Regions from separate parts of the Homo sapiens genome. Here regions 1, 2, 3, 5 and 6 are each linked to region 4. Evidence: promoter capture Hi-C in 16 types of primary human blood cells and fetal thymus (Javierre and others, 2016). All regions are on one chromosome and are shown on one strand. The core of a region is centred on a gene start or on the middle of the fragment in contact, and the rest is flanking DNA. Distances in the headings are between cores, read along the strand shown. Region 1 overlaps UBE2E3 (ubiquitin conjugating enzyme E2 E3). Region 2 overlaps LINC01934 (long intergenic non-protein coding RNA 1934). Region 3 has its middle 45 kb from the start of PPP1R1C. Region 4 holds the start of ITGA4 (integrin subunit alpha 4). Region 5 holds the start of LINC01934 (long intergenic non-protein coding RNA 1934). Region 6 overlaps LINC01934 (long intergenic non-protein coding RNA 1934).

What was found. Contacts are between HindIII fragments. The CHiCAGO score rates a contact against its expected background, and 5 or more counts as called.
Region 1: a fragment that was not itself captured here is called in contact with the fragment with the promoter of ITGA4 in region 4 in 2 of 17 cell types (total CD4 T cells and naive CD8 T cells); the score reaches 5.5 in total CD4 T cells.
Region 2: a fragment that was not itself captured here is called in contact with the fragment with the promoter of ITGA4 in region 4 in 16 of 17 cell types (naive CD8 T cells, total CD8 T cells, total CD4 T cells and 13 more); the score reaches 25.0 in naive CD8 T cells.
Region 3: a contact is called between a fragment that was not itself captured here and the fragment with the promoter of ITGA4 in region 4, in 1 of 17 cell types (fetal thymus). The highest score is 5.4, in fetal thymus.
Region 5: a contact is called between a fragment that was not itself captured here and the fragment with the promoter of ITGA4 in region 4, in 14 of 17 cell types (total CD8 T cells, naive CD8 T cells, total CD4 T cells and 11 more). The highest score is 30.0, in total CD8 T cells.
Region 6: a contact is called between a fragment that was not itself captured here and the fragment with the promoter of ITGA4 in region 4, in 16 of 17 cell types (total CD8 T cells, naive CD8 T cells, non-activated CD4 T cells and 13 more). The highest score is 35.8, in total CD8 T cells.

Annotation. Positions count from the first base shown.
Region 1 is chr2:181,031,272-181,035,069 of GRCh38, forward strand. All of the region lies in intron 3 of UBE2E3 (ubiquitin conjugating enzyme E2 E3), which reads left to right. Among named protein-coding and RNA genes, the nearest start is that of UBE2E3-DT, 52 kb to the left of the region's middle. The HindIII fragment of the contact is 4,155 bases long and covers 160-3,798 here.
Region 2 is chr2:181,189,126-181,193,083 of GRCh38, forward strand. All of the region lies in intron 1 of LINC01934 (long intergenic non-protein coding RNA 1934), which reads left to right. Among named protein-coding and RNA genes, the nearest start is that of LINC01934, 67 kb to the left of the region's middle. The HindIII fragment of the contact is 598 bases long and covers 2,072-2,669 here.
Region 3 is chr2:181,938,451-181,942,339 of GRCh38, forward strand. No RefSeq gene overlaps it. Among named protein-coding and RNA genes, the nearest start is that of PPP1R1C, 45 kb to the right of the region's middle. The HindIII fragment of the contact is 1,034 bases long and covers 2,057-3,090 here.
Region 4 is chr2:181,455,399-181,459,767 of GRCh38, forward strand. ITGA4 (integrin subunit alpha 4) reads left to right here and starts at 1,988. Exons shown (of 28, transcript NM_000885.6): 1 at 1,988-2,453; 2 at 2,798-2,919. The coding sequence starts at 2,257. RefSeq lists enhancers at 1,495-1,604, 2,325-2,514, 2,575-2,624, 2,985-3,034 and a silencer at 1,785-2,174. The HindIII fragment of the contact is 9,740 bases long and covers 1-4,369 here.
Region 5 is chr2:181,121,747-181,126,153 of GRCh38, forward strand. LINC01934 (long intergenic non-protein coding RNA 1934) reads left to right here and starts at 2,091. Exons shown (of 5, transcript NR_130784.1): 1 at 2,091-2,234. RefSeq lists an enhancer at 2,358-2,457. The HindIII fragment of the contact is 8,385 bases long and covers 1-4,407 here.
Region 6 is chr2:181,144,904-181,148,670 of GRCh38, forward strand. The region is part of intron 1 of LINC01934 (long intergenic non-protein coding RNA 1934); the gene reads left to right. Among named protein-coding and RNA genes, the nearest start is that of LINC01934, 23 kb to the left of the region's middle. The HindIII fragment of the contact is 661 bases long and covers 1,177-1,837 here.

The DNA of each region.
Region 1 (3,798 bases), core at 987-3,486, 420 kb before region 4:
TATTATGTGGTTCAGATATTCTGTATCTTCATTTTTTCCCTCTGGTTGTCAAAAACAAGATACGTAGAAATGTGTTTGCTGTATTACTTTTTATTTATATATTGCTGTATAATCTTTGCTGTATTACTATACCTTGAGGCTATTTTATTATGTAGAGCAAGCTTACAATGTTTCAGTAGCATATATTTTTACCGTTTTTGTTTTTTTGTCATTTTAAAGTACCACATTACTCTGTGTGTTTTTATTTATTTAGTCTGACAGTCTTTTAAGAGTTTGGTTTGTTTGTATTCATTATGATAGGGGTTTGTTACTACCATTTACTTAACGACTACTTTCTGTTTTTCTCTTTCTGCGCCCCTCCTCCTTGCCTTGCCTTTTTGATTGATTGAGGACTGTTTGCTTATTAGTTTTGGTGTTTTGTTTTGTTTTGCTCATAATTCCATTCCTTCTTTACACCCATTTTTGGAGGCTATACACTATTTCTGTATCCTTAGTGGTTCTGAAACTTTACTGTGCTTACTTAAAAAGAAGTCGTAAGTTAATAATCTTAACTCATTCTAGTATAAGACAATGATTGTGAAACAGTTTAATTTTAATCAGCTCCTTTCCTGATTAAATGTTTCCAGACTAGTGACTTTTAAAATGCCAGTTGCTTCTGTTTAACTCAAAAGTTTGTCCGGCTCACAAATGCCATTTTGGAAATGCCATGTAGCCTGTTCTTACAATCTAAGAGTATTCTGCAATGGAAAACCAGCTTCAGGGAGGTGCTCCATTAGGAAAATCTAGAAACCAAAAACTGTGGATAATCACTTTGCTGAGGTTTTCATTCCCTGAAGAAGCAAAAGTTGCTAGTCTCCCTTTGAACAAATTTTATGCCTAGCTTTTCTTGGGTTTAGAGGGCAAAATTAACTTTTTTTGTTGAAGTAGTGTGTTATGAAGGCTAAAGCGAACATCATTATTTCAAAGGAAAAGTAAAATAGAATATGGTCTTACTCACCTGGTAGCAATTGCATAAAATAACGTGTATCCAACATTAATTTTTAATCGGTAATATTTTTTTCCTCTGGAGAGCCAGCTTCTGCTATCTGATAAAAAATATATATTATCCTTTTATATACATGGGTTACAAAAAAGTCATTTGACTAACTTATTCAAATGGCCCCTATTTAACGAACCTCTGTAGTAGATAGCGTGGATAAGATAATGAAGTTTCAAAGAAACATTTGAGTCATTTAGTATTTTTCAATATCTTTATATCTTAGGACTTTCTCATTTGTCAGTGTCTCATTTGACCCATTTCTTTATTCTTATTCTTTATTCTTAACTCCAGATTTTTTAACTTGATATTTATTTTCTTCTAAGAAAAATTTACCATCTCTTTGAAACACTGTAATTTGGACATGCAAAGAAAACAAAGTTGCAAAAATGTAATTATTAAATATGCCTCCTTATTCCCAACTGATTCAGAACCACTGCAATTTTTGGGCAAGCGCTTTAATTTAGGATTATCAAACACTGTCTCAGCCCAAAATCTCCTTAAGCTGATAAGCAACTTCAGCAAAGTCTCAGGATACAAAATCAATGTGCAAAAATCACAAGCATTCTTAAACACCAATAACAGACGCAGAGCCAAATCATGAGTGAACTCCCATTCACAATTGCTTCAAAGAGAATAAAATACCTAGGAATCCAACTTACAAGGGATATGAAGGACCTCTTCAAGGAGAACTACAAACCACTGCTCAACGAAATAAAAGAGGACACAAACAAATGGAAGAACATTCCATGCTCATGGATAGGAAGAATCAATATTGTAAAAACGGCCATACTGCCCAAGGTAATTTATAGATTCAATGCCATCCCCATCAAGGTACCAACGACTTTCTTCACAGAATTGGAAACAACTACTTTAAAGTTCATATGGCACCAAAAAAGAGCCCGCATTGCCAAGACAATCCTAAGCCAAAAGAGCAAAGCTGGAGGCATCACGCTACCTGACTTCAAACTATACTACAAGGCTACAGTAACCAAAACAGCAGGGTACTGGTACCAAAACGGAGATATAGACCAATGGAACAGAACAGAGCCTTCAGAAATAATACCACACATCTACAACTATCTGATCTTTGACAAACCTGACAAAAACAAGAAATGGGGAAAGGATTTCCTATTTAATAAATGGTGCTGGGAAAAGTGGCTAGCCATATGTAGAAAGCTGAAACTGGATCCCTTCCTTACACCTTATACAAAAATTAATTCAAGATGGATTAAAGACTTAAATATTAGACCTAAAACCATAAAAACCCTAGAAGAAAACCTAGGCAATACCATTTAGGACATAGGCATGGGCAAAGACTTCATGTCTAAAACACCAAAAGCAATGGCAACAAAAGCCAAAATAGACAAATGGGATCTCATTAAACTAAAGAGCTTCTGCACAGCAAAAGAAACTACCATCAGAGTGAACAGGCAACCTACAGAATGGGAGAAAATTTTTGCAAGCTACCCATCTGACAAAGGGCTAATACCCAGAATCTACAAAGAACTCAAACAAATTTAGAAGAAAAAAACAACCCCATCAACAAGTGGGCGAAGGATATGAACAGACACTTCTCAAAAGAAGACATTTATGCAGCCAAAAGACACATGAAAAAATGCTCATCATCACTGGCCATCAGAGAAATGCAAATCAAAACCACAATGAGATACCATCTCACACCAGTTAGAATGGCAATCATTAAAAAGTCAGGAAACAACAGGTGCTGGAGAGGACGTGGAGAAATAGGAACACTTTTACACTGTTGGTGGGACTGTAAACTAGTTCAACCATTGTGGAAGACAGTGTGGCAATTTCTCAAGGATCTTGAACTAGAAATACCATTTGACCCACCAATCCCATTACTGGGTATATACCCAAAGGATTATAAATCATGCTGCTATAAAGACACATACACATGTATGTTTATTGTGGCAGTATTCACAGTAGCAAAGACTTGGAACCAACCCAAATGTCCATCAATGATAGACTGGATTAAGAAAATGTGGCACATATACACCATGGAATACTGTGCAGCCATAAGAAAGGATGAGTTCATGTCCTTTGTAGGGACATGGATGAAGCTGGAAACCATCATTCTCAGCAAACTGTTGCAAGAACAGAAAACCAAACACCACAGGTTCTCACTCATAGGTGGGAATTGAACAATGAGAACACTTGGACACAGGAAGGGGAACATCACACACCGGGACCTACCGTGGGGTGGGGGGAGCGGGGAGAGATAGCATTAGGAGATACACCTAATGTAAATGACAAGTTAATGGGTGCAGCACACCAACATGGCACATGTATACATATGTAACGAACCTGCACGTTGTGCACATGTACCCTAGAACTTAAAGTATAATAAAAAAAATTAAAAAGAAATTTCCTGGAACTAGCATGTCAGAATACCATTTTATGTCCAGCTTAAAGTTTAGTGTGAACCTTGAATTTTATTTCATTTCTATTTATATTCAGGTTTCTAAAGAACAAGTTTCCATGAACAAATGTGGCTTTCAACAGGTGAAATGATTTGAGTAATAGAAAAAAATTAGAATTTGAAAAATTTGAAGAATTTAAAAAGTTAACATATTTGAAGAATATGAAATACTAACATTAGGGAAGATTAGTTTGATACTTTTAATTTAGGAACTATTAGAGAAAGGGGAAAGACAACTAATATTTTAGGTGATTCTATTTAGATAAATGGCAAAATCCGCCTTGGAAAAGCTACATAATAAATATACAAGTCATTTGTA
Region 2 (3,958 bases), core at 1,121-3,620, 270 kb before region 4:
CCTGTGTGTGTCTCAAGAGAATTGGTTGTCACAGTGTGCTCCCTTTTAGATGGAAATAAATATTAAGAAATATTACATATCCCAGCCTTCACTCAGTATAAGATGAAAGAAAGAATAATGTGGTTTCTGAAATTTATAGCTCAAAAGTGAGAGAGCTGTGAAGTTGAGACCAATGTGACTTCTGAATCCTTATTTGGCTTCTTTGATGACTTATAAATAATAAAAATTGCTGCTTAAAAATATATATGATGGGGAACAAATCAACACCAGTCTTCTTAAAGCATCCTGAAAAGTATGTTTTGTATAAGTGTCCATTACTTGCTATTATTTTTGTGAAAAGATAGATGAATGTAAGGTTTCTCTTTCTTTGTCTTTCTGGATGGAATTCATTTTAAGTCCAGAAATTTGAAAATAAATATCAAGTGAAAAAGGAGAATTAATAGAGTGTTCTGAGGTTGGGGAGACACTCTCCAACAAACAGCAGCAAAATGTTATTCTCAGACTTGCTCATCCGACTGTCAGCAGCGGCTAACCCTGCTTCTCAATGCACAACTCATTGTCTGCCATGAATGTCACCTGCTATTGCCTGTGAATGAAGAATCACAACTGTACACAGTAAAGAGAAAGAATGGTATTGCATAAAAGTAACACATTTCTCTTAGGATTTGTCCTGATTCAAGTGCCATTCATTTATAGACAAGCACTAAAATTGAAAAAGACAACTTGAAGACATGCATTTCTTCCACTTAATAGATTTCTTAATTGTGCTTTCATTTACATACTTTTATTGATTCTACAATATTAACCTTATTGAGTAAAGTATCTACACATATAAGAAAAATCTGATCATTATTTTATAACGAAATAAAAGAGTGATTCTTTGGCATTCCCCTTTTTGGATTGAAGCAGAAGGCAGTGCATTTGGCTTAACACTTGACTTTTCACTTAGCTATGTCCAGAAAGAGAAATGCTTACACTGAGCCACAGTTATTAATCACAGGGGATCTCAGGCTCTAACACATAACAGGTGCTTGCTAAGTGTTTGTTGAAGGAACAATAGAAGGAGTCATCAGTTATTTTAAGGCTGTGATATGTGATCCTTATTTTATTATAATTTTTTTTTCTGAACATGGCATACTTGAAATTCAATGGGGGAAAATAAACTGACTTCTCCATTGTAAAATGACAGTTTTAGGTTGAGTTTCTCTTAAAGGTATTTTTTACTTAATGATTGTATTTGGTTAATCAGTAATATATTTCTAACCCATTATCAATAACATCAAAGAAATAATTTGGGGAGAAGTACACCTAACCCTACATAATCATTTCAAATGGAGTCTTGGCTATGCATGATGGTATTCCAAAATCCTCATGTTGGCTGAAAATAATTTTATTTGACTATTCACTTGAGGTTTTCAAGAAAATTTGTAGAGACTGTATTTTTTTTGTGTGTAATTCAAATAAGATGTTTAATAAAGGCATATTTTAGAATTTTAACAGCTATATAAGTCAGGTAAAAAGCCACATTTATTAGCCCCAGTAGATAACTGTAAAACTCAGACACAAAATTAATTTCTCAAAACAGACAGAAAGAAGAGATAGAACTCCCTGTAGCTTATGTCAGCTGTCAAAAAACAGTGATGTATTGTCCTTCTCCACTAAGTTGCTTCACCACCAGCAGGTTTTAGTTAACATGATTATGATAGTGAATGACCCTAAAGAGGGCTCCTTCATTCATTTAAGGCTCTTTCCTAATAACCCACAGCTGTGTGAACACCATCAGCTGTGGGAGTTTCCTTTGGGCACGTTGAAAGTGGTGGTATGTCACTCCATATGGTTCTTATGGGCTTCCTTTGACTACTCATATATTCCATCAGTCCAGCTGTCAAGAGCTGATTCCTCAGCTGGGCTGATGACTTGAAAAGCTACTCACCAGTCTTTAATTGTTTCTCAATGTTGCTACTAAAAAGCTAGGAGCTCTTTGTTTGCAGTAGGTAAAAAAATGAAGAGGAGCTCATTTCAAATTAAAGCAGCCAAGGCTCTGAATAGGACAATCCCCCCAAACTCAGTAAGCTTTTGTTTTTACATACTAATGTCCACATGGTTGTGGGGATCCAAAGTAATTTGGAGGAGAATTGTTATCGCTTTGATTGCATGCAAATGTAATCAGGCTTTTGCAAAGGAGGCCTCAAATGGAGCTTTGCACACAAGTTTAAGAAATGATCTTAATTTGTTGGCTTATAGTAGAGGTATTTAACTTTCAAACTTGTTTTCTGAAGAAAAGCAATGAAAATAAAGAGGTAATGGCAGTTTTGCTGTAAAACTTTAATTTGAAAAGAATTGTGGGATCATTACATTGTTTATTTGGAAAAAACAAAGGCATTATTGAAAAAATAACAGAATATCTAAACTATATGGAAAATTAAATAGAAATAAGGGAAAGAGGGTAACTGAATGATTAATCTCGTTAATTCTGTAATGAAATTAAAGTTTTTTTTAGTCTTCTAAATTGATATCACCCCTTAATTTGGAGCCAGTCTTACAGAGCCTTAGCAATTTATTGCTTGAATTGTCAGAGGAAAATAATGTGTTGAGGTTTGTATGTTACCCTTGTGGTTGAAATTTAGACATTTATCTTTTTTTAAAAAAATTGGAAAACGCTTTTAAGAAGCTTGGTAGAAAGGAGACAGTTTCTAGGGAAGATAGCTTAAGATTGATTACTTTTGTGTCTTTAGCCTTCCCTTACCTATAAAAATTTATTTAATTTTTCATGTTTCTGTTTACCTACTTTCACAGAAGGCCAGAAAACAACAGACTAACTCCGGATATGACAAACTCTTTATAAATACTTATAAGTACTGTTGGCTACAATAGTTCTAAAGCCTTAACAAATGATGTTGAAGCAAAATGAATAATGATTATTCCTATTTCATTAGGAATTAGTGTCTGTGAAATCTTCCTAAATCTTCAAAATCAATTAAGGTGTATTTTTACAGAAGCTTGAAGCTAAAGACTCTAAGAAACATTAGTGGAACTTCATTTGCCCAAAATTAATGGTTCCTGATAGTAGTTGGAATTCCAAGAAAAAGGGTTCATTATGTAATTCTCAACTCTTTAATTATACAACCACTTTGTTTTAATACTCTCTTCAAACTTCTGAGAGTTCAGTTATATTGTGATAGCCATTGATTACTTTCTCTTGCTACTTTATCTTTCCTTTTACATTTTATGGGACAGAAATGATATTTAATTTATTAACAAACTTTTATACCTTACAAACAAAATATCAATAATTGGACTTTCAAATCTTTTCTTACATAGTGTAGGAAATGTAATAATTGTTCTTTAAAATGCCCTCTTGAAGCTGGAAGACAGATGGAAAGATGCTTTTTTTTACTTATTAAACTGTTTTTTTTACAGTGAGTTGATTATTTCAAAAAATCATAGAAAATGAAGTGCTAAGAATTGCTGTAATCAAGATAAAGCAATAAAAATTTGAAATGTGATAATCAAGAAAGTATCTAATATTGGCTAACAAGTTTTAAATGTAAAATATAGAGATTTATTACATTTATATGTATCTCACAGTAAATAATCCCTTCTCTTAAATTCTTCAAGCAAAATTTAGTTATTAAACCTCTTTGTGGCTTTATTTCACAAAACATGGGAAAAAAAGAAAGAAGGAAGCATAAGATGAAACTCAGAAAGCTGTCAGGAACAATAATTTTCATACATGATAGTATTAAGTCTGTTTTAACTGAGTTGAAACAAAATTATGACAAAGTCATTGACCACCTCTCCCACCCAGATATTTGCTAAGGTATTCTAATGGAGGACATATAGTCAGGCCACATCTCAAATACTTAGATGTGACTAAATCAGTGAGTTTGGGTATAAACATGAGACCCTCTGGGAAAATCAAGGATGGCTTAGTGAGATGAACAGGAAAACTGTTTCA
Region 3 (3,889 bases), core at 1,324-3,823, 480 kb after region 4:
TTTTCCATTTTGTTAGAGTGGTTGTTCTAAATGCAAATATGATCCTGTCACCTCCTCACTCCTATTGCTCAGTGTCATCCATGGATGTCTCATTGTTTTTGAGTTAAAGTCCAAATGCATCCCTTTCTTTCTTTTTCTTTTTGAGATGGGGCCTCACTCTGTTTCCAGGCTGGAGTGCAGTGGTGCAATCACCGCTCACTGAAGCCTCAACCTCCCAGACTCAGATGATCCATCCATCTCAGCCTCCCAGGTAGCTGAGACTACAGGCACGTGTCAACACACCCAGCTAATTTTTGTAATTTTGTTGAGATAGGGTCTCATTATGTTGCCCAGGTTGATCTCAAGCTCCTGGGCTCAAGCAATCTGCCCATCTCAGACTCCCAAAGTGCTGGGATTACAGGTGTGAGCCACTGCGCCCAGCCAAATGCATCCCTTTCCTTTCTCCAATCCTCATTTCTTGAATCCCTCAATATGCAACTGTGCTTCAGTCATACTCAACCATGCTGCTCCATGCTTCCCTGTATTTGCAAGTTTTGCCCTCTCTGCTTGGAAGTCCTTTCCTTTTTCTCCGATGCCACCCATGCTTCAAACATCTATCTCTCCATGAAGCCCTTTGTGACCCACCAAGCAGAAATCACCGCTTTGTGTTTCCAATGTACCTAGGACATACATTTAAATGTGTGTGTGTACATATGTGTGTGTGCAGATGCATATTAGCTTTATTGAAATATTCACAGATCATAAAATTCACTCATTTAATAATACATACAAATCAACGGTCTTTAGTATGTTTACAGAGTTCTGCAACCATCATCACAATTAATTTTAAAACATTTTCATTACCCCCTAAAACTCCCAGTACCCACTAGCAGTCACTCCTTATTTCTCCTCAACCCACACCCACCATAGCTCTAGGTAGCTACTAATCTGCTTCCTGTCTCTATAGACTTGCCTATTCTGGACATTTCATATAAATGGAATCATACCATGTGTGACTTTTTGTGGCTGGTTTCCTCACTTAGAATAATGTTTGCAAGGTTTATCATGTTGTAGCATACCTCAGTACTTTGTCCTTTTTTATTGCCAAATAATATTCCCTTATATATACATGCCGGCATTATATGAATATGCCCTCATTTTGTTTACCTATTTATCAGCTGATAGACATTTGGGACATTTGGGTTCTTTCCATTCTTTGTTTATTATAAATAATGCTGCTATGAACATTTATGTGCAAGTTTTTCTAAAGACACGTGTTTTCATTCCTTTTGCGTAGACAGCTAGGAGTGGATTTGCTGGGTCATATGGTAACTCTATGTTTAACATTTTGAGGATCGTCTTTTTTTTTTTTTTTTTTTTGAGATGGAGTGTCGCTCTGTCACCCAGGCTGGAGTGCAGTGGTGCAATATTGGCTCACTACAACCTCCACCTCCTGGGTTCAAGTGATTCTTCTGCCTCAGCCTCCCAAGTAGCTAGGACTACAGGCACACACCACCACGCCCAGCTAATTTTTGTATTTTTAGTACAGACAGGGTTTCATCATGTTGGCCAGGATGGTCTTGATCTCCTGACCTCGTGATCCACTCACCTTGGCCTCCCAAAGTGCTGGGATTACAGGTATGAGCCATTGCACCTGGCCAAGGATTGTCTTCTAAAGTGACTGAACAACTCTACATCCATCAGTAATGTATGGGGGTTGCAATTTTTCCACATCCTTGCTAAACTTGTAGTGGTCAGTCTTTTTTTATTCTAACCATTCTAGCAGGTGTGAGGTGGTAGCTCATCGTGGTTTTCATGTGCATTTCCCTGAATGATGTTGAGCATCTTTTTGTGCACTTATTGGGCATTTATATATCTTCTTTGGAGAAATGTCTGCTTACATCATTTAACCATTGTTTTTAAAGTGAGTTATTTGTCTTCCTATTATTGAGTATGTGAAGTCTTTACGTTTTCTAGGTGCAAGTTCCTTAGATGCAAGTTCCTTAGATACAGGATTTGCAACATTTTTCTCCTATTTTATGGGTTGTCTTTTCATCTTCTTGATAGTGTGCTTTGAAGCTTGAAAGATTTTAGTTTGGATAAAATTTAATTGATCTATTTCTGTCTTTTGTTGCATCTGCATTTTGGTGTCATATCTAAGAAACCATTGCTTAGCCCAGGTCATAAAGATTTACTCTTATTTATTGCCTAAGAATTTTATAATTTTAGCTCTTAAATTTATGTATTTTATTCCTGTTGAGTTAATTTTTGTACATGGTGTAAGTTAATGGTCCGATTCTATTTATTTTCATGTGTGTGTAGTACATATCTTTTAATTTTTTTCATTTATTATACTATATTGCAATTAACCATTTAGTCTTCCCAATTATAATAAGACAGAAACATGCCTTACCTACTATCATATACCTAGCACAGTGTTTGGTATGTAGTAAGTGTTCTATAAATATTTGTTAAATGGAGTTGAACTAAATGGAAAATATTGACTTTTCCTCCATTATTAAAAACAACAGATAATTTTTATTGAGATATGTAATTATTTAAATTTTAGTATGATAATGTTTTACAAGAATATGTCCACTTTATGAACATAAGGATTTCCAAACTCGGTCAGATCTATAATCCATCTAGATATATTTTGTTTACTGTCAGGGAAGAAGAAGAGCTATATTATGGAGTGTTTAATTCTTCTCCATAATTTTGACATCATTGATAAAAAATATATCCTCTGAATTATTAATGTCTCTATGCAATTCTTTGTTTACTTAATGTGGCAGATTATATTTTTTAAAGATAGGTCCAAAAGAATCTCCTATCCCAACTACTCTTCTAAAACTTTGCAATTTCCTCATTAAGAACTGTAGTCTGTATGTCTTCCTCCTCTTGCAACTGGTTGGTCTCTGTGACTGCTTTTGAACAATATGAAAAATAGAATGTGGTGAAGGTAATAACCTGTGACTTTCAAGGTTAGAACATGAAAAATGCCATGCACTTTTATCTGATTCTCTTTGAATTCTTGGTCTTGGAACCCAAACATCATACTGTCAGGAAGACCAAGAAGCCTGGGAAGAGGCCTACATGGAGGAAGACAGAAGCTTCTGGCCTTTGGCCCTGGAGGAACTCCCAGCCAACAGACAGCACCAAATCGCCAATCATATGAGAAAGTTATCATGAACGTGGATTCTCCACCGCTAGTCAAGCCACCCCAGGTGATATCACAATGAATTGAAACAAGTTGTCCCTGTTAAGCCCTGCCTGAATTGTGAATTCATGAACGAAATGAATGATTGCTGTTGCTTCAAGACACTAAGCTTTCAGGATACTTTATGTGCGCATAGATATCTGTGACAAATTTTGGTATCTAGAAGTAGGATGCTGCCATAACAAAACCCTATATTTGGGCATTGGCTTTGGGCCTGGACTGTGGGAAGCAGCTGGAAGGGCTTTGAAGAGATGCTTAGTGAAAACCAAAGGCTCTCAAGTAGACTGCTAGTGGAAACCTGAAAGACCTTGAGGAGGCTCTCAGTGAAGGTTTAAAGGAAAGTGAGGACAATGGTATTGGAAGCTAAAGGAATGGGAAGCCTTGTTGGATGACGGCACAGAGTTTGCCAACATAATCATCTGTGTTAATGTGGCAAAGTGGAAATATACCTGCTAAACTCAATGATCTAGTTAAGATTTCCAGGCAGAATATTCAAAATGCCACCTGATTTTTTTTTCATCACCTATGATAAAATGTGAGACAAGAGAGATGAGCTAAAAATAACCTTTAAATATAAAAGAGTCAGAACTTGCCAGGTTTGAAATAAAATTGTGTCTTATGCCCTGATCCTCTAAAAACAATTACTAAATTAAAAATGGCTCTGGAAAAGATAAAATCAAGGGTGGATCC
Region 4 (4,369 bases), core at 738-3,237:
TAAGAAAGAAACACACTCAGCACTACTACAGAAAGAAACAGCCATGGGCCCTGATTGTTAGCTTTCTGGAAGCCATTTCATTTTTACAATAGATTTATCACACACTGTATTGACTTTTTCCAGTATAGAGTAAGAGAAAGTTAATATTCCTCATGTTTTGTCTGTTGACAGACTGAAAATAATTGCATTGAGTTTGGCTAGAATATCCTGTCATTCCATAAACATCTCAAACTCCACATGGCTAAAACTTAACCCATCCATGCCCCCATCTGCATGCACACATACATGCATATAACTTCATTTCTCAGTGTTTTTTTCTCCATGAATGGTAGCACCATTCTCTTTCAAGAAAGAGAAATACTTCCCCTTGGGATTATCCTATCTCTACTTATTGCTGCAGGGGCTTCCAAAATTAGGTTTTCTGTGTTCAGTCTTGCATTCACACTTCTGAAACCCAGAGCTGACCGAGACAAATTCTTCAACTTCCTGTCAGTCCCAACATAGATTTAAAATTCCTAACCTGGCTCATGAGGTTCACCATGTATTCCTGCTTCCCTAAGTCAGCCTCATATCACACCAACCTGTGTGTGGAGTGGCTAAATACTCTAGCCAGGCAAGCTCTCTCAGTTCTTCTACCTGGCTCCTCTGGAGCCCTCCTTATTGCTCATCCCATTCTTAGCCTGATTCAAGATTCCTGGTCCTTCAAATCTCTCTTTAAGTGTCCTTACCTGGATCTTTCTCTAGTTAGTACAAATTTTTCTATCTACCATTGGAGCGAACATTTTTTGAAACTTTGTATCAGTCCTGCCTTACTCTTGGTGGAATCCTGTGGTCCTAGTCAAGTGCCTGCTCCATGAATGTGCTGAATAAATGAATAAGCATTTTAATTGTGTATCTGTCATTAGTGTCAGATGTGTTATTTATTCCAGCATGGTTTTAGCACACAGACACACTCTTTGATGCAGACTTTTCTTTTCTTTTTACATATAGCAACAATAAAAAACTAGACTTTCATCTCCTGAAAATATCAGTCTAATAATCACCTATGGCTGTCTCTCTGGTTGCTGAAGGAAAAAAAAAAAAAAGGCAGGGCACACCTGGATTGCATTAGAATGAGACTCACTACCCAGTTCAGGTGTGTTGCGTTGTGGGTCTCCGGCACATTTCAGAGGCTCATTAGGACCCTGACCCCACACTGGGGTTTACACCCCTAAAAGCAGGTGTGTCCCGTGGCAACTGAGTGGGTGCGTGAAAAGGGGGGATCATCAATTACCAGCTGGAGCAATCCGAATCGGTTAAAGTGAATCAAGTCACAGTGCTTCCTTAACCCAACCTCTCTGTTGGGGTCAGCCACAGCCTAAACCGCCTGCCGTTCAGCCTGAGAGGCTGCTGCTAGCCTGCTCACGCATGCAGCCCGGGCTGCAGAGGAAGTGTGGGGAGGAAGGAAGTGGGTATAGAAGGGTGCTGAGATGTGGGTCTTGAAGAGAATAGCCATAACGTCTTTGTCACTAAAATGTTCCCCAGGGGCCTTCGGCGAGTCTTTTTGTTTGGTTTTTTGTTTTTAATCTGTGGCTCTTGATAATTTATCTAGTGGTTGCCTACACCTGAAAAACAAGACACAGTGTTTAACTATCAACGAAAGAACTGGACGGCTCCCCGCCGCAGTCCCACTCCCCGAGTTTGTGGCTGGCATTTGGGCCACGCCGGGCTGGGCGGTCACAGCGAGGGGCGCGCAGTTTGGGGTCACACAGCTCCGCTTCTAGGCCCCAACCACCGTTAAAAGGGGAAGCCCGTGCCCCATCAGGTCCGCTCTTGCTGAGCCCAGAGCCATCCCGCGCTCTGCGGGCTGGGAGGCCCGGGCCAGGACGCGAGTCCTGCGCAGCCGAGGTTCCCCAGCGCCCCCTGCAGCCGCGCGTAGGCAGAGACGGAGCCCGGCCCTGCGCCTCCGCACCACGCCCGGGACCCCACCCAGCGGCCCGTACCCGGAGAAGCAGCGCGAGCACCCGAAGCTCCCGGCTGGCGGCAGAAACCGGGAGTGGGGCCGGGCGAGTGCGCGGCATCCCAGGCCGGCCCGAACGCTCCGCCCGCGGTGGGCCGACTTCCCCTCCTCTTCCCTCTCTCCTTCCTTTAGCCCGCTGGCGCCGGACACGCTGCGCCTCATCTCTTGGGGCGTTCTTCCCCGTTGGCCAACCGTCGCATCCCGTGCAACTTTGGGGTAGTGGCCGTTTAGTGTTGAATGTTCCCCACCGAGAGCGCATGGCTTGGGAAGCGAGGCGCGAACCCGGCCCCCGAAGGGCCGCCGTCCGGGAGACGGTGATGCTGTTGCTGTGCCTGGGGGTCCCGACCGGCCGCCCCTACAACGTGGACACTGAGAGCGCGCTGCTTTACCAGGGCCCCCACAACACGCTGTTCGGCTACTCGGTCGTGCTGCACAGCCACGGGGCGAACCGATGGTGAGTAGAGTTGGACTGATGCGCCCTCAGCAGCTCAGAGCGGCGTGAGAATGGCGCCCTAGGGATTCCCTGCCCGATTCAAACTTTCCTCCCTCCCAAGGAGGCAGGAGGGAAACGCTGCGAGAGCCAGCTCGCTGGAAATCTGCCAGGGAAACTAACTTATCTTGGGGCGGCAGCGCCCCGGGTGCGTTATGGTGCAAGGTCTTGGAGCTTCGAGTCGGGGGTGGTGGGCGGAGGAGGAGGTGGGGAAGCTGCCCTGCTGCGGACTGCACATCTGTGGCGACAGGGAGCTCAGTGGGCAGCACAGCTCACGTCTGAGCGCACGTGCACGTGTCTCGCTTTAGGCTCCTAGTGGGTGCGCCCACTGCCAACTGGCTCGCCAACGCTTCAGTGATCAATCCCGGGGCGATTTACAGATGCAGGATCGGAAAGAATCCCGGCCAGACGTGCGAACAGCTCCAGCTGGGTGAGTTGGGTATGGGACCAGGAGTTAGTGACCTCCCGACCCCCCATGTGGACCCCACCATAGGGCAAGTCCTGGAAAGATTCACGTTGCCTGTTACTTCTGGTTTAAAGAGCATAAAGTTTTCAGTTTCAACTCCATCTCATCTTGCCTCCTTAATATAAAAGGGATTCCCTTTCTGTTAATATCGTTCTCCCTTTTCCTTATGGCAATGATTGCAGTACTCTGACAACTATGCTAGAGAAATTTCTTATGATACCTTCTCTTCATCTCTCCCCGTCTCTCCGTGTGTAAAGCACATTTTAGACTCTCTCAGCGTATTAAGGACAGGATCCAGCTAAGCCAAGACTTGAGAATTTTATTTCCATCTTTGACCTATCAACCCTCTTAAAGAACAGGCTAAGGAGCATATCAGGAATAGCAATTGGAATTGATCCCATATCCCGTCGTTTAACCTAAAGGCCTAAAAAAAAAAGTGATAGTTTTACTTACAATATACAATCTAAAAGAAAAGGAAAATTGGCATCTTCATCGTTAATGTAGTATAATTTTCCATTCCCAAAACCGTCATCCAAAACTCATGTTATATGGGTCCATCTTTTTGCAGTCATTTCTCAATGTCTCAGATTTGTGACAAGTTGAAAAATGTGTACTGATAGAGGGGAGAAGTTTCATGTTTCAAAGCCAAAGACAAGTTTGTTGCACACAGGCAAGTGGGGAAAGAGGAAGGAATATTAAATAACAAGACCTATCTTGTTCCAAAGTGTTACTGCTATATATATTGCTTAACTTTTTTCCCCTTAAAGCAACCCTGGGTCATGGTTGACATTGTTCCTAGTTTATGTATGAGGACTGTGGCTCAGAGTTGCAAATACCTTTTTAAAAGTTACTTAGCTAGTGACTGATAGGTGGGAACTAAAGTCAAACTAGGGTCTGAATGCGTCCAAAGTCTAAGCCATTTTCTTCCATGTATGTATCTTCAATGCAAATAAAATTAAGTGAATGGTTTAATATGTTGTCTGCTGAGCTGATGGGTCATCTGTAAACGGTGAATAAAATTGGTACTTCTTTATATTTCTTTGCTATAAATGGACTTTTGAGATTAGTTATTGGATCTTTAACTTCTTTTGTATTTTATAGTAGTCTTTGCTCTTTTTCAAACTGTGAAGCTGGTTCCCTTCATTCAGATGAATTCAGATAGAGTATAAACATAATGGAATTTTTACTTTTAACTCAGAGCACCTATAAAAGTCTACGAGTTGTCTGTAGCATGTAGAATAAGCCCTAGCCTCTTGTTAAGCATCCTCAATACCAGAAATCACAGTAGGAATGCATAAAACATTCACAGACCCATACATTTTGGAATGATTTTGCAAAGCATAATTTTCATTGCATGAGAGAGTTGTGGGTGAAGAATTAGGGAGTGGAGCCGACAACTTTGGTCTGCCAGAGG
Region 5 (4,407 bases), core at 1,172-3,671, 330 kb before region 4:
TACCTGTTCTTTAGTTACCCTTTTCTCTCTTTCCCTGTCATAGCTCCTCTACCCCAACTGGATGCACCCAAATGGTAGAAGGTAGAATAAGGGGGAGATGCTCTGCTTCTCTTATTGTGGTTGTCCATGGATCTCTTGCTTTTCCCCTTTTATTTGAGCATTTTGAATTGCCACCAATATTGGCAACTGCAACTGTGCCTCTTTGGTTTGTATGTCCAAGGCCAATGATATAATAGCTATATCCTTCGAACCTGCCCAGACATACCTAGAGAAAACATTTTCAGGTATCTCTAGGTAGGTGTGAGCTAGGAGGAAGGTTAGTTAGGAGCAGAGACCAAAAAGAGATATAATGAATGCAACTCTATGAATCACAAGGGAAAAAGTCTCTAATTGCAGAAGGAGCAGTAACAGTTTTAAGCTGGAGAGCCTGGGTTGGTGCCCAAAGCATTTCTTTGTTTGCCAAAAGCTGCCTCAATGTGGTATTTCCATCAACACCTATTTGTTGAGAGCCTACTCTGTGCCAGACACTATTATACAGGCTGTAATTTTCTATTGGCTCTAAGCCATTCTGATACATAAAAATATAGTTTCCTCAAAAGAGATTAGTATTTTATAATCTAGTTCAGCTTCATGTGTTAGCACTTAGTCTGAATATTTGCCATTGTGAAAATATGCAATATCTATGTATTTTTCAGACATGAGCCAAAGTATTGAAGTGCTTCATACTTAATTGTTCTTCAAAGTGTTCAATCTTTAACCAAAATATTTCTCAAGAAGTATTTCATGGATATACTTGTTATTTATTTTTGTTCTCTGAAAGAAATGCCTCCTGATGTTAAAAATCATTTTGCTAATATCTCAGTCTTATTCCTTTTTAGAGTCCTCTACACTCTATCAATATAGAACTAGCTACAGTTACCAGAAAGTGCTATATTGTTTTGTGCCTCTGGATCTTTGAATATGCTAGACTCCCAGCTGGGAATGCACTTCCTTGCATGAAAAATGACCACACAATATTCTTTACCACAGTTCAAGAATCAACTCCTTTGATCAGCTCTTTTACGCTAATTAGAATGCCCGTTTCCCCACTTGAGGCCCAATGTATTCTATATAAATTCCTATTGTTGTAATTCTCACATAATATTCATAATTATTTGTCCAGTTTTCTTTTCCCATCTTGTGATTTCCCATAAAATCATAAGATTTTATGAACTTATTGAGGACAGAGATTATGTCTTATTTGTGGTTATATCCTCAGGGCACAAAAAAGAGAAACTCAATATATGTTCAGTAAATTCATTGAATGAATAAATGAATCAATGAACAAACAAGCAAATGCCATATGCATGCATATATTCAACTCCTAGGAACACATTTTACTGGTATTTTATATCTTATATTTATTTATAATATATAAATATTTTATATATTATATATAAATAAATACAAATATTTATTTATATATAATATATAATATAATATATTTATTTATATATAATATATAATTTATAATTATATAAATATATAATATATTTATATATAATATATAATTTTATTATATATTAATTATATATATAATAAATATATATAATATATAATTTTATTATATATTAATTATATATATAATAAATATATATAATATATAATAATATTATATACATTATATATAAATATAAATATTTATATAATATATAATATAATATATTTATTTATATATAAATATATAATATATAATTATATAAATATATAATATATTTATATATAACATATAATATAATATAATAAATATATAAATAAATATAAGATAATAAATATAAGATAAGACCCTTTTCTGAAGATACTTCTAAGAAGTATCAGCAATACATTCTATGGGATGCGTATAATGGTTCCTGGATAATATAAAGAAAGAAGGCTTTCCTTTCTCAAAAAGGCAGTCTGTTATAAAAGTCTTTGTAAGTTGAAAACATTTTTTTTGAAAAGCAGAACCCTGTAGTTAAAGAAAATTCAGCAGCCTAAATTCTTTACTACATGTGTGGGTATAGTGAAAACATTTAGCTATCTGATATTACACTATCGTTGACTTCTCAGTTTTAGTATTCAGAGAATGACCTGAACTTAGCTGTGTTAAGTTGCCTGCTCCACAGGAAACCACCTCTGTAACTGTTGCTTGCTGCTTTCTCTTTAGGCAACACCCAAAGCCACTGTCAGATGTCATGGAGATGAGACCTCACAAGGTAAGTGCAAAGAAAACAGGAACAAATACATTTTCAAACAGAACTTGGTGAAAACATTGGCCCAAGAATGATAGGAAGCACCGCCTTTTGGGGATCCCTATTTGGGCTGTGGAAGGGACATATAGCCCTGTTTTATATGGAATCATATATGGTGTGAGGGAAATGAGTCAGATCCTGGGTTCCCAAGTGGCCTATCTGAGACAGAAGCAGGTTATGTTGTCTAGACAAAAGGAAATGCTTTGTTTTTTGAGGGAATGTTATCAGAATTTTAAAAGCCAAATGATGGCTAGAGAATATAACTAAAATTTTATTGACACTTTGTTTTTTAGAAGGCTTTTTCCCTCTTTCTTTTTGTTTCATTCTAACAGTCTATCTTTTTGCCCAAGATGCAAATTGAAACTTAATTAAATCCATGATTCCAAAGAGATATAGGCCTTATTACACAGCAGGCATTCTCTGGCTTTTCTTCACATCTGGAGTTTTAAACTTTGGGGTATTAATATCATGTCTAAGATTTCTTGTAGTCTTGGTTTGCTAAATAGAGGATACATGGCTATTTTAAATGAGGGTTTCATAATCACCCAAAAATGCTACAAATTTCAACGTGAAATAGCTTTTTCCTACATTGTAAATATTAGATGATTAAGCATTCCTTATGCCTTTTGCATGAAAAGGCAACATAGACTTTATTAGATATCTGCGGTTCTCATTCTTTGAGTATTTGCCTCCCTATTGACCTTCAGGCCTTTTGTGCTTCTTTAAAGCCGTTTCCATCCCCCCTACTTCCTCCTTCACAGAATGTAAGATGTCAGTGGAAGAAGATGAAACCAGAGGTTTTAAGAAAAGATTGGACAATAATAACTAAAACAAGTTCCTTTAGCTTTTATTTTTACCCATTTTATGTATTTTTATTGATATAAATTGCTTTATTATGATTATAGTTGAAAGTCAACATTTTGGCATATTAAAAAGACCATTTCCTTCCAACCTAGAAAATTCTATCTCATGATGATACATGTTAGGCCTCTTAGCAACTTATTCTGTCCTATAGCTGTGTGTGGCCACTGCCAATTTGTAGTCCCCAGTTCTAGTCCTGTCAACTATTTCTCCAGAGGTAACTGGACCAGAGATTATACCAGAATTTTATTTTATTTTTCTCAGATGGAGATTTTTTTTCACTGTGAAACTGTCTGGTTTCCCACTGATGGGTCTAATATACAGAGCTTTCTGGGTTTGACAGATGTGATAAACTAACAAGAATATTTGCATTTGTGTAGCTTTTATATACAGATATTTCACTCTCCTAATACTTTTTCAAGTTATAGATAAATGTTTTTTAAAAGCAAACTGAAACGGCTGACAAACAGCTGCTGCATAGACTTTGGAACCTGGCTGCCTATGTTTGTAGACTGCTCATAGAAATGTGAGTTCTGATAGCCTTTTTGGAGATGAATCTAGCAATATATGTGGATATTTATTGTGGCATTTGCTGAAGTTCCTTCTATAGCCTACCAGGCACTGCATCACCTGGACCTTGGGCAAGATATATGTCTGGTCCCTTTTCCTGCCCTTCTGTCACTCTGCATTTACTGTAGTGGCATTCACAAGTGTTCCCAGTCTCGCTGAGTATCTCTCCCTCAGAACTCGGGTGCTTGCTGCTTGCTGTTCCTTCTGACTGGATTGCTCCTCTCTTAACAGGCCTCATGGCTTACTCCCTCAAGTCATTCAGGTTTCTGATCAAATACCTCCTCAGAGAGCTCTTCCCTGGCTACCCCATTTAAAGTAATAAGAAATTTCCTGTAACTTTGTATCCCCTTGTTTAGCTTCATAAAAATATAACATTATGTTACATATTAAATTAGTGCCTGTCCCCTCCACTAGAATGGATTCTTTAGGAAAGTGGGAACTTTGTTTTGTTCATTGCTCTATTCCTGGAGTTGAACAGGCGCATAGAGTGTATTAAGACTTGTTGCATGAATAATTTGTGGTAGCAAATGAACGAAAAGATAAAGCAAATAGAATATCCTTTGGTAAGAGAATGGTTAGATAAATTGTGGCATATCAATAATATGATGAAGTCATCAAGAAGAATAGAATTAGATCAATGTCATCCAGGGAGTTTCAAAGTTTATTATTAAGGAAGAAGTGGAGGTGCAGAAAAGTTTGTATAATA
Region 6 (3,767 bases), core at 257-2,756, 310 kb before region 4:
AGTTTCTTCCTTTTGTTGGGCTCATAGTCTCACTGGCTTCAGGAGTGAAGCTGCAGACCTTTGCGGTGAGTGTTACAGCTCCTAAAGGTGGCGCATCTGGAGTTGTTTGTTCCCTCCGGTGGGGTTTGTTGTCTCACTGGCCTCAGGAGTGAAGCTGCAAACTTTCGCCGTGAGTGTGACAGTGACAGTTCACAAAGCACCCAGAGTTGTTCCTTCTTCCCATTCCCAGTTGTCTGTCCCTCCCTGTGGGTTCGTGGTCTTGCTGGCTTCAGTAGTAAAGCTGCAGACTTTCACAGTGAGTGTTACAGCTCATAAAAGCAGCACAAACCTAAAAAGTGAGCAACAGCAAGAGTTATTATGAAAAGCAAAAGAACAAAGCTTCCACAAAGTGGAAGAAGACCCAAGCAGGTTGCCGGAGAGGGTTTGGGTGGCCTGCTTTTATTCCCTTATCTGGCCCCACCCACATCCTACTGATTGGTCCACTTTACAGAGAGCTGATTGGTCCGTTTTACAGAGTGCTGATTGGTCCGTTTTGACAGAGCGCTGATTGGTGCATTTACAATCCTTTAGCTAGACACAAAAGTTCTCCAAGTCCCCTACCCGATTAGTTAGACACAGAGCGCTGACTGGTGCGTTTACAAACCTTTAGCTAGACGCAGAGTGTTGATTGGTGCATTTACAATCCTTTAGCTAGACAGAAAAGTTCTCCAAGCCCCCACCTGACCCAAAAGCCCAGCCGGCTTCATCTCTCAATGGCACTACCCACGGGACTTTGGGGTACATAGCCAGGGCACTCTGGCAGCCCAGAGGGAGCTCCTCCCACGATCAAGCGCAGCAGGCGCCCGCAGGCCGAGCTGAGTGCAGGGGCTGCGGAGCCCGCGCCCACCCCAAACCCGCACCTGCCTGCGAGCGCCTTGCGCAGCCCCGGCTGCCACGGGCGCCTCTTCCTCCACACCTCCCTACGAGCAGAGGGAGCCGGCTCCGGCCTTGGCCAGCCCCAGAGAGGGGCCCCCACAGCGCAGTGGTGGGCTAAAGGGCTCCTCCAGTGTGGCCAGAGTGGACACCCAGGCCGAGGAGGCATGGAGAGCAAGCGAGGGCTGCTAGCAAGTTGTCATCTCTTACTACCTACCATTGCTGTAGTGCAGCCACAGCATCTTATGTATGGTGGATTTGTGAAGCTTTACACTACTGTTACATGGTTTCTCAATCATATTTATCGTTTATACAAGAGCTCACAAATTAACAATTCTTTTACCTTGTTTCCAAATACCAGCATAGTCACAAAATGAATGACTCAGGAAGTGTAGATCTAGAAGAACCAGATAATTGCACATAAGTTTGGTGAGATCAGCATGGTTGTTATGTTGTGGGTGTACTTTGTTAGCTGTCTTTATTTTTATTCTCAGCCCTTTGTAGTGCTTTAAATGGCAGAGGTTTTGAGAATGGGTGTCCCAATGACGTTACTGAGGGCTGAGGTTAAGCATTACATAGAATGGTGGTACTTAGTTGTTGGCCATGACTGGTTTCCTCACCATCTGTGTGAAAAACTGTCAAAAGTACGTATTATTATGCTGATCACCAGGCATGGATACCCAAGTTTCCTGTGGTGGCCTGACTCTGCCATGTTGCTATAATTATAACATAAAATATGGCATGTTTTCCTATTACTCTTGAGTTAGAAAACATACAAGCCAATGCCACTGAGGAGTGTAGTGGTGGAATACACCAGTAACAAGGGGCATCTAACTTTGGTGCCTTTCACTCTTAAAGCTCACCTTGTATCTTAGCAAAGAATATACTTGACCTAGCTCACAGTCCCTATTCCACACAGGGACCAAGCTTCTTTCTTTCATTTTTATGATTGACATAGTTTTTGAGTAGGTAATATATTCAAATGAGTCAAAACCCAGAAAGTATATAGATATCTGTGAAAAGCCTTCTTTCCTTCCCATCCCGCTGTTTAATTTTCACACATTCTTCCCCATCATGGCCACAAACAGGTAATGTGTGCTGTAGGTTTCTTGTGTATCCTTAAAGAGATAGATTTTTTTTATAGCTGTAACTCGATATAAATATATTTTATTTTTCTTTCTTAAAAAGACTCATAAATGATGTGTATAAATATATTTATATCTCTTACAACTCAGCACAATGCTGGTGTAATGATTTGATATTCAAGCAAATCACAAAGCTCTAGTTAAATTAGTCTTTAATATATAGCTAAGAAAAATCGTTGGCAAATTTGTGTGCATTACAGAGCTCAAATGCCTAAGCATTGCCTGCCTCTGTTCTCAGTAAGCATATGTTTTATTTAAAGAGAAATCATCAGGTTTATCTGGGTTCATCCTAATGTATTCAGCACATTAACACTTGTTTCCAATAGAGTTTAACAGCTTCTTTTTACCAATCCCTTTAGTAAAATCTTTTATAATATAATAGTTTAAACCCAACTTATAAAATATAAAATGTGTAGTTCCAATCAACATTAAAGTGTGTTATATGTATAATTTAATATTTCTTAAATTTTTATTCATTAAAAAATCACATACTGGTCTTGATTTGAAACAGCGTTTCAAATGGTTTTTAGTTATGTAAATTATTTCTCCCCTGACTGTGTAATTACATGATGGACTGGTTTCTAGAGTATCATATACTTAATGTGAGTTTCTAAAAATGCTTTAATCATATAATTGCTAGTTTATCAAGTAGAAATATAGGTTTGAGAACACTATCATTATGTCATTATTTTCCACAAAAGACTGTGAAACACACTGAAGAGGCTATTATGAGGCAAATAACAGTTTTCTGTGGTGTCTAAATTTGCAAGGATTATATTTTTAAAAGAATAGTAAAGAAAATACCTAAAGGTGAAGAGCTTTAAATCTAGCCAGCCAATTTATGTTGTGTCTCTATGAAAAACCAGTCCAGGCAAAGAGAGTGAATAGGTTAAGACCAGAATAATGAAGATAGTAGATTATCTAACTCAATGAGTGATACTAATATTTAATAATTGATTCACTAAATTCTGCAAGAAAGCCTAAAGGAAATGAAATAAAGTGGAGATATTTTATTTTATTTATACTAGAATCCAGTTGCATTGCTCTTATACTAATTATTACTGGCTGTACCATGTTCAAGTGTGATTGAAATAGAAAATCATTTATCTTCAACTGGTCTACCGCCAGTAGGAACAGGGAAATATAATCTAGAAAGGCTAAGTGGTTAAATTGAAGTCTAGTTTTACAGAAATTAAAGATTTAAATAAACGTTTTCTGATTTATTGAGTAGTCATGGGTGAGAAAATGTTTTTATTTTCAACAAAGTCTAGTAAAAGTCTAAGGTTAAAATTGCTCCCTCTGTGGGTTTAGTATGAGAAGAGAAGACTCCTAAAAAGTCCTCTCTCAAGAAAAAGTCTCTCTCAATATATTTCTGTTACACACACACACACACACACACACACACACACACAGTCAGCCTTTCGTGTGCAGGTGTTCCACATCCCTGCGTTCCACCAATGATGAATGGAAAATACTTGGAGAAAAAAAGTATGGCTGCATCTAAGCTGAACATGCACAGACTTTTATTCTTGTTACTCCCCAAACAATACAGTATAACAACTATTTACATAGCATATACTTATATTGGATATTATAAGTAATCTGAAAATGATTTTAAGTAAAGGGAAGGATAGGTGTAGGTTATATGTAAATACTATACCATTTTATATAAGGGACTAGGGCGTCTGTGGATCTGGTATCTGTGGGGGT